Linked DNA regions of Homo sapiens: all the other regions are linked to region 2. Evidence: promoter capture Hi-C in 16 types of primary human blood cells and fetal thymus (Javierre and others, 2016). All regions are on one chromosome and are shown on one strand. The core of a region is centred on a gene start or on the middle of the fragment in contact, and the rest is flanking DNA. Distances in the headings are between cores, read along the strand shown.

Region 1 (3,701 bases), core at 47-2,546, 380 kb before region 2:
GTGGAGTTCCCTGTACACACATACAAAGCTGTTTCATGCCTCTGTGCCTCTTTGCACATGCTGTTCCCAGAGTCCAGGACACCCTTCTCCTCCTTCTTTAGCTGGCCAACTCCTACTCATCCATCAAGATTCAGCTCAGGCAGTGGCTTCTTCTGGGGAGTCTCCTTATTCCAGACCTGCATGAGATGTCCCGACGGGGAGTTCCCGCAGCCTGGACTTCATCTGCTGTGCAACACCTGAGAACAGGCGCTGGTGCATGCGGTCCTATAAAAGTGATGGAGAAGTACAGGGCCTGCTGGCAGCAGGCCTCCGACATGCAGCTCGCAGGGCCTCGGGAGGAGGTGCTTGCATGCCCAAGCACCAAGTTATAGGCCCCGGGTGCCAGGCTTCTTGCATCTTCCACCTCCTCCTCCTCCTCCCAGCATCCACCCCTTTGCAGGTGGCAGCAGGTGGCAGGGGCTTTGGCGTAAGGGGCGGGGAACTGGGCCTCTGGAAGGCTAATGAAGGTTCTCTAGCTACAGATGAGCCCAGTATCCCTTGGACCTACTCCTGGAGGGGTGGGGAAAGGCAGTGAGTGCCCTGGCACAAGGTAGGGGAGCGTAAAGTCTAATACTGTCTGTAGGCTCCCTGTGTAACCTTGGGGGAATCACTCCTCTCCGAACCTCAGTTGTCTGGCCTGTAAAATGGGAACGCAGCAGCCGCACTTCCCCAGTCGCCAGCGGTTGAACGCGGGACCAACCAGCAGGGCGCAGGCGGCAGGGCATGGAGGTACAAGGCGGAGAGGGGGCCCATCAGCGGAGGCGGAGTCCAGGGGGAGGGCGAGTCCAGGCGCACTTCGGGCGGCCCCGCCGCAAGTTTGCCCCCAGCTGTTGAATGCGCTGGCGGAGGCCGGACCCGGACCCGGACCCGGATCCCGCGGGGTGAGCAGCGCAGGGGGCCGCGGCCGGGACAGGGGTCCGCCAGGCCGGGGCTCGGGTCCGTGGGGCCGCCTTCGCCTCCCCGGGCGCTGCAGCTGCAGCGGCGGCGCCAGGCGCGGCCCCAGCCCCGCGGGCGTGTGTCTGCGAGCGCGCGTGTGTCCGTGGAGCGTGCGGCCGGCTCGGGGGCGGGAGCGGGCTTGCTGCGGAAAGGCCTGCGGAGGGCACCGGGAGCGGGCGGGCTGGCGGACGGACAGACGGGGACGGACAGACGGACACAGCCTGCCGCGGTCCCTGACGCGCGCCGCTTGGCCCCTCCCGGGCGCCCTCCCCGCCGAGGCAGGGGCAGAGGCGCGGCGGCGGGGAGGAGGGGGCGGCGGCGTCTGCGCGCACACGCGCGCTCCCAGACACACACACAGACACACGCGGGCCACCCCACGGCCACGCACCCCGCACCCACACCCGCGCTCACACTCACATTCACACTCACACTCACACGCGCAGGCCCCGCGGCCGCCGCTTCCCGGAGGCGGTGCTTGGCCCGGATCCCGGCTGGGGCTGGGGTAAGTGAATTCCTCTGGATCCGAGCGCCGCGACCGACCGACCGGGGAGACGGTGGGAGTCGGGGCTGGAGCCGGAGGGCACCCCCTCCGTCAGTGGGGGTGGGGCTTGGAGAGGGACACGGAAGGGGGGATGAGACGGGGAGAGCCACCCCCAGTGTCTCCTGGGTCTGGGGATCCCCGTGAGACCCCCGGGGGACCACCCTGCGCGAGGGAGGTGGTGGTGGTGGCGGTGGGCGGAGGCGGTGGGAGGACACCGAGGACGGTCGGTGAGGTGAGCGTTTCTGGGGGTGGTGCAGAGGCTCGATGGTGGACGGTGTGCCAGCCGGTGCCACACTGCACCTCTCTGCCCTCATCTTTTCGAATCGGGGGCCCTAACCCCTCTCTTTCACGGGGTGCTGCCGGGTCAAGGCATTCATCCTCTAGCTGGTAAGAGGGGTTGACGGGGTGGATGCCTTCTAGGGGAAGGGGGGCCAGGGTGGGGCTTGACGGCGGTGGGGTTGGTAAGACCAGAATTGGGGGGTGGGGACCCTTTCAGAGGCGCTGGCCAGGGACAAGGAGGGAGGCAGCCCAGGGAGGCGGCATAAATCGCAGACACTGCAGCTCTGGCAGGGCCGGGGCCACTGCCGGGTGTGTGTGTGTGTGTGTGTTTGTGTGTGTGTGCGAGCGCGTGCCAGTGTGTGTGTGTGCGTGCGTGTGTGGGCTCCAGCAGCTGTCAGGGGACGGGGAGGGGGTGGGTGTGTTGGCTGGTGGGGCGCCGTGTGCATGTGGAGAGGATTGTGCGTGCTGTGTGTGTGTGGTGTGTGCGTGTGTGTGTGGACATGGGGTGGACCCTGCTCTCTGTCTGTATACACACAAGCGCACACACGCACACTGTCAGTGGCCTGGCAGGATTTCCTCGGAATGTTTGGAGGGAAGGGAGCTGATGTGTGTGTGTGTGTGTGCGCGCGCGCGCGTGTGCATGCACACTCGGGGAGCTTGTGTCCAAAACAGAGGCCACAGGCCATGGTGTGTCAGGCGTGCCCAAGGAGGGAGACGAGAAGGGGACAGTGGTGCTGACCGTGCACTCAGCTGGGGAGGAACGTGGTACTCGGCACTTTCTGCAGCTCAGGGCTCTGTGCTGTGCCCCTTCCCCCTGGACTCCTCCCACCCAGCAGCTGCGGCTGGAGGGCACTGCCTTGGTCCCTTGCTGAGACGCAGGTGTTGGGCTGGAGTGTGTGTGTGTGTCTGGGCTGCGGCTGTCGCTATCAGCAGGCCAGGCTGTCGGAGTCAGAAAGCTGGAGGGAGTGGGGTGCTGGCAGCACCTGGAGGAATGTGGTGGAAGCTGTGGGGCGCGGACTGCCCGGCGCGGTTACCGAGAGGCGTTTTAATATGCAAGTTGCATCATGAGATGGGACTGGGAGTGTGTGTGTGTGTGTGTGTGTGTGTGTATGTGTATGTGCATGGCTGACACCCCTGTTCTCGTGGCCCGTGGACACCTGTGGGACGTGTCACGTCTGGGCCATCAGCAAAGCATGTGGGCATGTGTGTCCCCTGAGAGGGGTGCACAGGCAGGTGCTGTCCTGATGAGCCGGGGGCCCTGCAACTGTGTGGGTGGGGAGGTGGGTACCTCTGGGCCATCAACGCCTAGGCAGGAAGAAAGAGTGTTAATTGTGGGGACATCAGGAAAAAGTATGTATGTGAGGTCAGTGAGAACCTCAGGTGTGACATAAGCTCCAGGCCGCAGGTGACGTCACTGGGACAGTTTTGTCGGAGGTTGCTCCCCCCAGCCAGAGTGTGTAAATGTGATGTCACGGGAGTGTGTGTGGCCGAGTGTGGTTATGTCTCTTGTATATGAGGGGTGGGAAGGGGAGAGGGATGGAGCCTTAGGACGCGTGGCGTGGTCCCTCCCAAGAGGCCGCCTTTCCCAGCATCCTGAGTGGGCATGGGACCCCTTTCCTTAAGTCCTGCCCCCTGAAGAGTGCACCTTCCAGGACTGGAACCCCCGAAGGAGGTTCTCACATCAGCACCATTGGCTGCTGAACTCCTTTGCCAGGTGGGCCTGGAGGCCTCCAATGTGCTGCAGCCCCCTATCTGACCTCCCCAGTCCCTGTTTTCCTCTTCATCCCAGCCAGGCCCACCACCCCTGGGTGGATGTGCTTTAATGAGTGAGTGTGTCAGTGCATGTGACAATAGAAAATGGCCATAGCCAGGGAGCGTGAGGCCATTGGTTCGAATCCCATTTTGC
Region 2 (4,022 bases), core at 1,098-3,597:
GCAGACCATGGCCCAGAGCAGGAAGGCACGCACAGGTGCAGGATTTATGACATCTCCCTCCAGAAGGCAGATCACCGCCCCCATTGAATAGATACCAGTGGAGACGCAGTGAGGAGAAGTGACATATTCAAGCTGGTCTGGCTGGATCAGCTGACCCAGAGCCACACCCTGTGTCCCAAAGAAGAGTTAACTTGGCACTGACTGTAGTCCTTGCCCCTGGCTGCAGCTCTGCTAACAGGTCGTTCTCCCAGACATGGCCTCCCCACTGTTTGTTAGGCCCGGATATGGGCATATCCAGGGCCTCGGCCACCTAGGCCTGGGGATAACCAAAGCCCCACTGGGAAGCAGACTCCCCCCTCTCCTGCCTCCACCCACAGCCAGCACTGTGCCGCACAGGCTGCCAGACTTAGTGAACAGTCACCCGCTCCACCCACTTACAAGCCCTCACCAGGCAGAATTTGAGATACTGGATCAGCCAGAGAAAGAGAGACAGAGCTCTCCCCATGCCTGTCAACACTGCATTCCTGTCACCCCAGCCTCCGGATGTGACCGTCCACACCTGGCTTCCTAGGAGGCCAGAGAGAAAGGGCGTCACAGCCCACAGCAGAGGCCACAGGGCCTCGCTGACTTCCTCTATCCCCTGCACATGTGTCTCTTCACCTCCCTGACAGTACCCAGGGAAAGCTTGAGCCCGTCCGCTTGGCAGAGCCCCAGGCTCGGCACAGGCAGATGCTTGGGAATCAGCCCCGTCCGACTGGGAAGAGGCAGGAAACAACCAAGCAGGCAGATGGCCGTCCTGGTTGTCCAAATGGCTTGGGGCCTCCACAGAGGGCCCTGGCAGGCTGCATAAGGTCCAGGCCAGCCCCCTGGACCAACTCACCCTCCTCAGCCATGTCCTTGTCCAGCACCAGCTTGCCATGCCGGAGGAAGTTCAGGATGGGCCCGAAGTAGGTGGGGTCACGGTCAATGAGGTAGGCCCCGGTCTCATCCTATGGAGGTGAGGGATGCTCGGTGAGAGAAGAGTGAGGCTTCTCCCCAGCCAACCCCGCACACGCACAGGGAGGGAAGGAGAGTGGAGGGAGAGCTCTTCCCTGGATGGAGCAGGCACAAAGTAGCAAAAAGGCACTGGGGTCAGATGGACCTGAGTTCAAGCCCTGCTTCTGACTCTTCCTGAATGTGTGACCTTAGGCTAATGATTTGGCCTCTTTGAAACTCACTCCTCTCCCCCTAATCAGGGTTTGCTGTGAGCATCCGGTGAGAGGATGTCTGAGTGGCAACTGGCCCAGCACAGGGCTCGAAGAATGTCCCTCTGAGAGGCTGTCCCCTGAAGCCAGCCCCACTGTCGCCCCCAGGTCCCTAGGCTTTCAGGGGATGTTTACAAGTTTCCAAAGGAGTCACTATCTCACTGGACACTCGGGCGGGCAGGGAGGCAGGGTGGGCTTCCATGCGACTCTACAGAGAGATCGGAGACATTGAGAGGTGAGGCGACTTGCCAAAGGCCACAGCATCGGAGGGTCACGGATGGGGGACAGGAGACCTTAGAGGTCATCTTCAGACCAGCCCTTCGTGTTACAGATGAGGAAGGAGGCTGAGCGCAGTGCAGGGAAGGGTCCGACTCAAGGTCGCGGCAGGCAGTGTGCAGCAGAGTCAGGGTGGGTGCTCAGAAATAGTGCCCGCTGGGCCAACGCTCCTTCTAGATTCAGCCCGCTCAGAAGGCGCCCCAGGGCTCCTCCATCCAGCTAGCTCCCTGCACCCCTCCGCCACCCACATCCCAAAGAGCGGGAGAAGTAGCCTCGTCGACTCCTTCCCCAGAGCAGGAGTCCCCTTTGGGAGGGAGGAAAGGTCCCAGGTCTCTCCCTGTCCACAGCCCCAAAGGAGAAGGAGAGGCCCCGATCCGGGGCGGCTGGAGAGCTTCTAATGGCCGCGGCCTGCGTCGTCCCGTTGCCACGGCAATGGGTACATCCCTCACTACCAGACCCACCTCCCCCTCCCCTCCTCCTGCCGCTTCTTCCCGCCTCCAGTTCCTCGGAAATGAACCCGGCCGGGTCCCCAGCCTGGCGGGCGAGCCAGGCCCGACAGCCCCGCGTCGGGCGAGCGGAGGACCCACCGCCCGCTCGCCGCCCACCCCGGGGGCCTCACCCGGTCCGACTGCAGCTCTTCCCCCTGGCACAGGCGGCTGAGGAAGGACTTCTGCTCGCGGCACAGCGTCTGCCGGGTGGTCAGGAACACCGTGCCCCCCACGTTGAGCCGCACCCACTTGCCCCAGCCGCCTGCGGCGCGGCCGCCCGCCCCCGCCGGCGGCGCTGCCTCCCCGGCCTCCATCCTCATCGCCGGCCGCGGCGTCTGCATCCTCCTCCCGGGCGCTGGGGGCGGGCGGGGACCGCACGCGGGGCAGGCCGGGAGCTGTAGTCCGCGCCTCCTGGCTCCGCGTGGGCCGCGGGTAGGGTCCCGCCCCGCGCTGCTCCCGCCCCCGGTCCCGCCCCGCTTCGCCCTTCCCCGCAGGCCCGCAGTCTGGGGTGGTGAAGATGCCCTCTGGCCAAATCACTGTGTATGGGGAAGGTCGAACTCCCGGCCTCTGGGAAAAGAATGAGGGCTTCCCCAAATCTGCAGTCATCCCATGGGTCCGAGCATTCTTGTTTTTCCTTTGTGCCGTCTCCGTCGTCCAACAGCTGATAAGGGAAGAAACTTTCCCCTCCAGGAATCCCCATAGCATTGACCCGCATGTGTTTCGTCATATTTTTTCATTTGCCCTTTGTGTGTATAGGGGTGGGGGCGGGGTGGGTGGGAGTGGGTTCTTTCCCTCACCTGAGTTCTTGGAGAACGACATAGCTGGACTTGAGGTTGGCTGAGCACCTGTATGCCAGACACTTTGTGTATATGTGTTATGAATTTAAGCTCTCAGCAGCCCTGTGAGTCTGGTATTTTGGGCTATACCCATTTTACAGATGAAGCCACAGAAGCGAAGTGACCGCCCTACTCACATTGCTGGTGAGTGAGTACCCACCAAGGTCTCTTTCCTGCTCCCTGACCATGGAATGTCAGGGATCCTTGGGAAAGACTTCTAAGGAGGAAGAGTAGAGCACGCCCTGGATCCGAGTCAGGAGAACTGAGTTTCCATTCTGGCTTTTGGCCTTTCTCAGTTTTTCCACGTCCTCCCTAAGAAGGAGGAGGGATTGGTTCTGCGGGTGGCTTTCTGAGTTATTCCCCAGTTAACTCGGAGGGGAACCGTCATTCTGTGGACCTCAGGATGGGGGAAGGGAGCAGTTCCTCATGTGGTCCGGGACCAGGGAGGGACAAGGGCTGACGAGGAAGCTGTCTCCTTAGCTTCCTCTCCTTACTGGTTTCAGTCCTGGTCCTGGCCTATGGGGGAGAGGTCTGGGGCTCCTCTCACTGATCCAATGTCACACGCAGCTGGCCCGAACACTGGGCAGCCTGGCCCTGTGCTGGGAGAAGTTTCCCTGTTACCACCCAATGCCCTGCTTTCTGCATAAAGCTTTTCTCCTTGGCAGGGAGTGGATCAAAGGTGTACTGGAATCCTGCTACTTAAAATTCACTAGGTGTGTCCTGAGCAACTTCCTCTCTGAGATTGGCTTTCTCTCTTGCCAAATGGGATTTACAACAGTTGTGACCCCAGAGCATTGCTGTGAAGATTAAGTTATGAAATGTCTATAAACATCTAGCGTAGGCTGGGTGCGGTGGCTCACACCTGTAATCCCAGCACTTTGGGAGGCCAAGGCTCGCTTGAGCATAGAAGTTCAAGACCAGCCTGGACAGCATAGTGAGACCCCTATCTCTCTCTCTCTCTCTCTCTCTCTCTCTCTCTCTCTCTTTTTCTTTTTTGAGATACAGTCTCACTCTCTCACCCAGACTGGAGTGCAGTGGCACCATCTCAGCTCACTGCAACCTCTGCCTTCTGGGTTCAAGCAATTCTCATGCCTCAGCCTCCTGAGTAGCTGGGATGACAGGCATGCACCACCACGCCTGGCTAATTTTTGTATTTTTAGTAGAGATAGGGTTTCACC
Region 3 (4,071 bases), core at 782-3,281, 430 kb before region 2:
GGAAAGGCAGGGGCCTGTGACTTGGCTGCCTTTGCCTGTTCCCCGTGTCAAGCATCCTTTCTGTGGGGTGGAGAAGCCCACTCATCCTGTAATCGTCACCAAGTCATATTTTTGTCCCCATTTTAGAAATGATGAAGGTAACTTTCCTAGAGTCATACAGCCAGTGAGTGGCCCAGTTGGGAATTTTTTTTTTTGAGATGGAGTTTCACTCTTGTTGCCTAGGCTGGAGTGCAATGGCGCCATCTCGGCTCACTGCAACCTCTGCCTCCCGGGTTCAAGTGATTCTCCTGCCTCAGCCTCCCTAGTAGCTGGGATTACAGGTGCCTGCCACAATGCCTAGCTAATTTTTGTATTTTTGGTAGAGACGGGGTTTCACCATGTTGGCCAGGCTGGTCTTGAACTCCTGACCTCAAGTGATCTGCCTGCCTTGGCCTCCCAAAGTGCTGGGAGTACAGGCGTGAGCCATGGCGCCCAGCCCCCAGTCAGGATTTAAACCTGGTCTGTGGGGTACAGAGTCTGGGATCATCACCAAGGCTGGCATCATCACCATTCTGAGAATATGGCCTGTGAAGGGGCCTGGCTGGGGGCTGGCCCATGAGAAGGTCATTCAAAGGGTTGGTTTTCCCTTCCTCTCCCCCAGCTGTCCTCATGCAGGGTTGAGCCCGGCAGGGCCACTTCCCTTTGCCAGCCACCTGGTACTTTGTTGTGTTGAATTAACATTGATTGAGTTCTTGTCTGCCGGTCACTGTTCTAGGCACTGGGGATTAGGGACTCAGTGATCAAAAAATAAATCCTGCCCTGATATTCTCATGAGGAGGACAGAAACTTAGTTAAACATACAGAATGTTGGAAGATGAAAAGTGTGATGAAGAAAACAGTGAAGTGGCTTGAGAGGGACAGGCCTGGGGGGCTGGGAAGGAGGCGGCGAGGGGTTGCAATGTTAATAACGTGGTCAGGGAAGGCCTCACAGAGACGGTGACCTTTGTGTAAAGACCAGAAGGGAGTGGGGGAGTGAGACGTGCAGGTCTCTAGGGAGGGGCCCAGGTGGGAACAGCAAGTGCCAAGGTCCTGTGGCGGCCAGGTGCCTGGGCCAGCGAGGGTCCCAGGTTCTGGAGTGGAGCAGGGTGAGTAGCAGGAGATGGGGTGGGAGTAACTTGGGAGCCAGCTCACGCAGGGCCTTGTGGGCTGCTGTGTGCGTTTTGGCTTTTGTTCTGAAGAAAATGGGAGCCAGTGCAGGCTCTGAGTGGAGGAGGGAGGAGGTGTGAGTGAGCTTGTGCGAAACAAGATGGAGGTGGTGGCTGGAGAAGGCCCTCTGTCTGTCCACTGGTCAGGTGCTGGGAGAGAGGCAGCTCCAGAGACTGCGGAGTGAGGTCGGGTATGGGCTGGGGCACAGCTGGACAGGTGCCCTCAGGGGACCTCCTGTGAACTAGATGAGGAACAGAGACCTGGGTTCTGCCAGCTCTGCGGCTGAGTTGCTGGATCGTTTTTGCTCATTCTGTGCCTTTGTGCCTTATGTCTTCAGCTATAAACTGGGAACGACAGTCCCAGTGCTGTTGTGAAGACCTCAGGAACTGAGCGAACAACTGTGGGAGCCCCAGAGGTTAAGAGGTTATCACGGAAGGCTTCCTGGAGGAGGGAACCCTTAAGCTTTGAAGTCCAGATAGAACTCAGCCTAGTGGAGGGAATGTGGGTGAGGCTGGTGGAATATGGGAGAGCATCCCGGAGGAAACCTGTGAGCAAAAGCTGGGGGCTGGGTGAAGCAGGACACCAAAGTAATGGGTGTTGAATGGGCCGAGCTGACAGCTCTCTGGGGGAGTGGACGGTGCTGGAGGACACTCCCTTCCACCGGGCACGGAGGGTTTGTTGTGACTTCCTCCCACCGCAGCAGCTGGCAGAGCCGGGGCTGCCCTTTCTGCTGGTGCCTCCTTTCAGCCGCCTCTGTCTGGGGTTCCCTTCGTCTGGCCCCGCCCCTCGGGCTAAGCGGGGCGGGGCCAGGCGGTCCCGGAGGCTGCGGCAGGCCGGACAGCGGGAGCAGGTGGAGGACTGGCGGCGGTCGAGATCGTGCTGCCATGGCTCAGCCTCTGGGTCCAGAGCCTCAGCTCCTACCTCTTCCCTCCTTGCCAGCCCCTGATGCCTGCCAGACTTTTGCCTCTGCTGGAGCCCCTGCCTGACCAGCTTCCCCTCCCTGTCTGGTTGGGATTTGGGGGCTGAGCTGTCTGGGGTCCCAGGGCCAACCAATGCAGTGCCGGCTCCCGCGGGGCCTGGCTGGAGCCCTCCTCACCCTCCTGTGCATGGGGCTCCTGTGTCTGCGGTACCACTTGAACCTGTCCCCGCAGCGGGTACAAGGGACCCCCGAGCTGAGCCAGCCGAACCCGGGGCCCCCTAAGCTACAGCTACACGATGTCTTCATTGCAGTGAAGACGACCCGGGCTTTCCACCGCTTGCGCCTGGAGCTGCTGCTTGACACGTGGGTTTCCAGGACCAGGGAACAGGTGACAAGTGGGTGACATTGGGCCCTGGGGGTGGCCCCTGGCCTAAGGGGTTCTCAGAGGCCTTTCTACTGGGCTGGGGTCCCTGACTGCCTCATGGGAGAAGCTGCTCAATACCTGCCTAATCAGGGATCCTCTTCCTCTCTCCTTCTTCCGGGCTTTAGGGGCTGCCTGCGGCCCTGCCCGTGCCCTGTACTGGTCCTGACTCCAGGTGCACCCAGGTCCTACCGCTCCACCACTTTTGGGGGCCAGGCTGGGCCCCTGCTCCAGGCTCCCGGGTCCCTCCTGGGGGTTCTTCTATTCCTAGCCGCTCCCGTGGGGGCTTCGCTCCTAGCCACCCAGGCCCAGCCTGGCATCAGGGGTAATGGTGGGTGTTGGGCAGCTGGGGTGGAGGCCTCCAAGAGGTCCTGACCCAGACCCGTGCCCAGGCCAGGCTGTCCCACCCAGGCCCTAGGTGCTGTCCTGCCCGGGCTCTGAGGGTGGAGGACGGGAGGAGAATGGTGGGGTCTGTTCTTGGGGGAGGCATCCCTTCGGCCTTCCCGATAGCCCCTGCCGCTGTGTCTCTGCTGCCCCGGGTGTGCCGAGGCCGCCATGTCTGGCCTCCTGTGTTGGCTTCCTGCGGACTGCTTCCGAGGGAGGGAAGGAGAGCGCATGCCACGAGGGTGGCGGCTGAGGCAGTGGTGGGCCGGAGGTTGGGGAGGCCTGCCTGGCACGTGGGATTGTGTGTGTGTGTGTGTGTGTGCTCACACGCACGGAGCTGGAGTGTGCTAGATGTGTGTGACAAGAGGCATGTCTGTCACATGGCTGTGCGGCTCCGGCGAGCCAAGTCCCTTCCAGCCCTTTCCCTCCTCGCATCCAGTATCTTCCTTAAGCAAAGTTAGTGATGTCGGTGTTAGGGACCGTTGATGGGGGAGGTGGAGAATGGGTACACACACACACACACACACACACACATCGGTCCCCTCTTTGGCGGCTGGCTCAGTGGGAGGAAGTGACTGAGTCTTTGGAGATAGTCGAGACCTCCTGGAAGACCAAAAGGAGGGGGAGAGGATGGCTGGCAGAGGCCAGGCCCTCCTGGGGAGGGGCACCCTGCCCTGATTTCTGCCCTCGTACTTGGGATTAACTCTTCCCCAGCTGGCCCCCAGCACCTCAGCTCTTCTCTGGGCCCCACACGGCTTCTCATCTTGGGGAGATCCTGGTTCTTCCTGCGGAAGCAGCCAAGGCGGGCCCTCCCGCAGGCCTTCCTGTTTATGCGTCTGTGTACCCGGGAGCGTGGCCTCACGTGGCCCACGGCCCTTTCCTGTCTTATCTCCATCACCGCGGTGGTGCCCTTGCCCCGGATGAGGAAACTGAGGCCAGAGAGAGGAAGTGCTGGCTGGCGTGGTGTCACGCAGAAGGCCTGAGGGGACAGAGCCCAGTGGGACCTAGAACCTTGCTCCTGGTTGGGTGCTTTTCTCCCCTGCTGAGACTTGGGAACCCTGTGAGGACTGGGTCACTGGGCTACAGGAGTCGCTACCCCACGTCTCTCACCCTTTGGCTCACTTCTCTCTGTGACCTCAGCCAAGGCCCTCCCCTTTCGGCC

The links. Contacts are between HindIII fragments. The CHiCAGO score rates a contact against its expected background, and 5 or more counts as called.
Region 1: a contact is called between the fragment with the promoter of ELFN2 here and the fragment with the promoter of KCTD17 in region 2, in 4 of 17 cell types (activated CD4 T cells, naive CD8 T cells, non-activated CD4 T cells and 1 more). The highest score is 5.9, in activated CD4 T cells.
Region 3: the fragment with the promoter of MFNG here is called in contact with the fragment with the promoter of KCTD17 in region 2 in 1 of 17 cell types (activated CD4 T cells); the score reaches 5.3 in activated CD4 T cells.

Annotation. Positions count from the first base shown.
Region 1 is chr22:37,425,074-37,428,774 of GRCh38, reverse strand. ELFN2 (extracellular leucine rich repeat and fibronectin type III domain containing 2) reads left to right here and starts at 1,296. Exons shown (of 3, transcript NM_052906.5): 1 at 1,296-1,477. The HindIII fragment of the contact is 18,273 bases long and covers 1-3,701 here.
Region 2 is chr22:37,050,067-37,054,088 of GRCh38, reverse strand. KCTD17 (potassium channel tetramerization domain containing 17) reads right to left here and starts at 2,347. Exons shown (of 9, transcript NM_001282684.2): 1 at 2,140-2,347; 2 at 881-989. The coding sequence starts at 2,328. RefSeq lists enhancers at 745-1,461, 1,462-2,179 and silencers at 2,116-2,235, 2,246-2,555. The HindIII fragment of the contact is 2,809 bases long and covers 687-3,495 here.
Region 3 is chr22:37,484,344-37,488,414 of GRCh38, reverse strand. It overlaps MFNG (MFNG O-fucosylpeptide 3-beta-N-acetylglucosaminyltransferase), which reads left to right and starts at 2,031. Exons shown (of 8, transcript NM_002405.4): 1 at 2,031-2,492. The coding sequence starts at 2,238. RefSeq lists enhancers at 629-1,138, 1,139-1,650, 1,651-2,160, 2,637-2,686, 3,087-3,146 and 2 more and a silencer at 1,937-2,066. The HindIII fragment of the contact is 3,313 bases long and covers 1,650-4,071 here.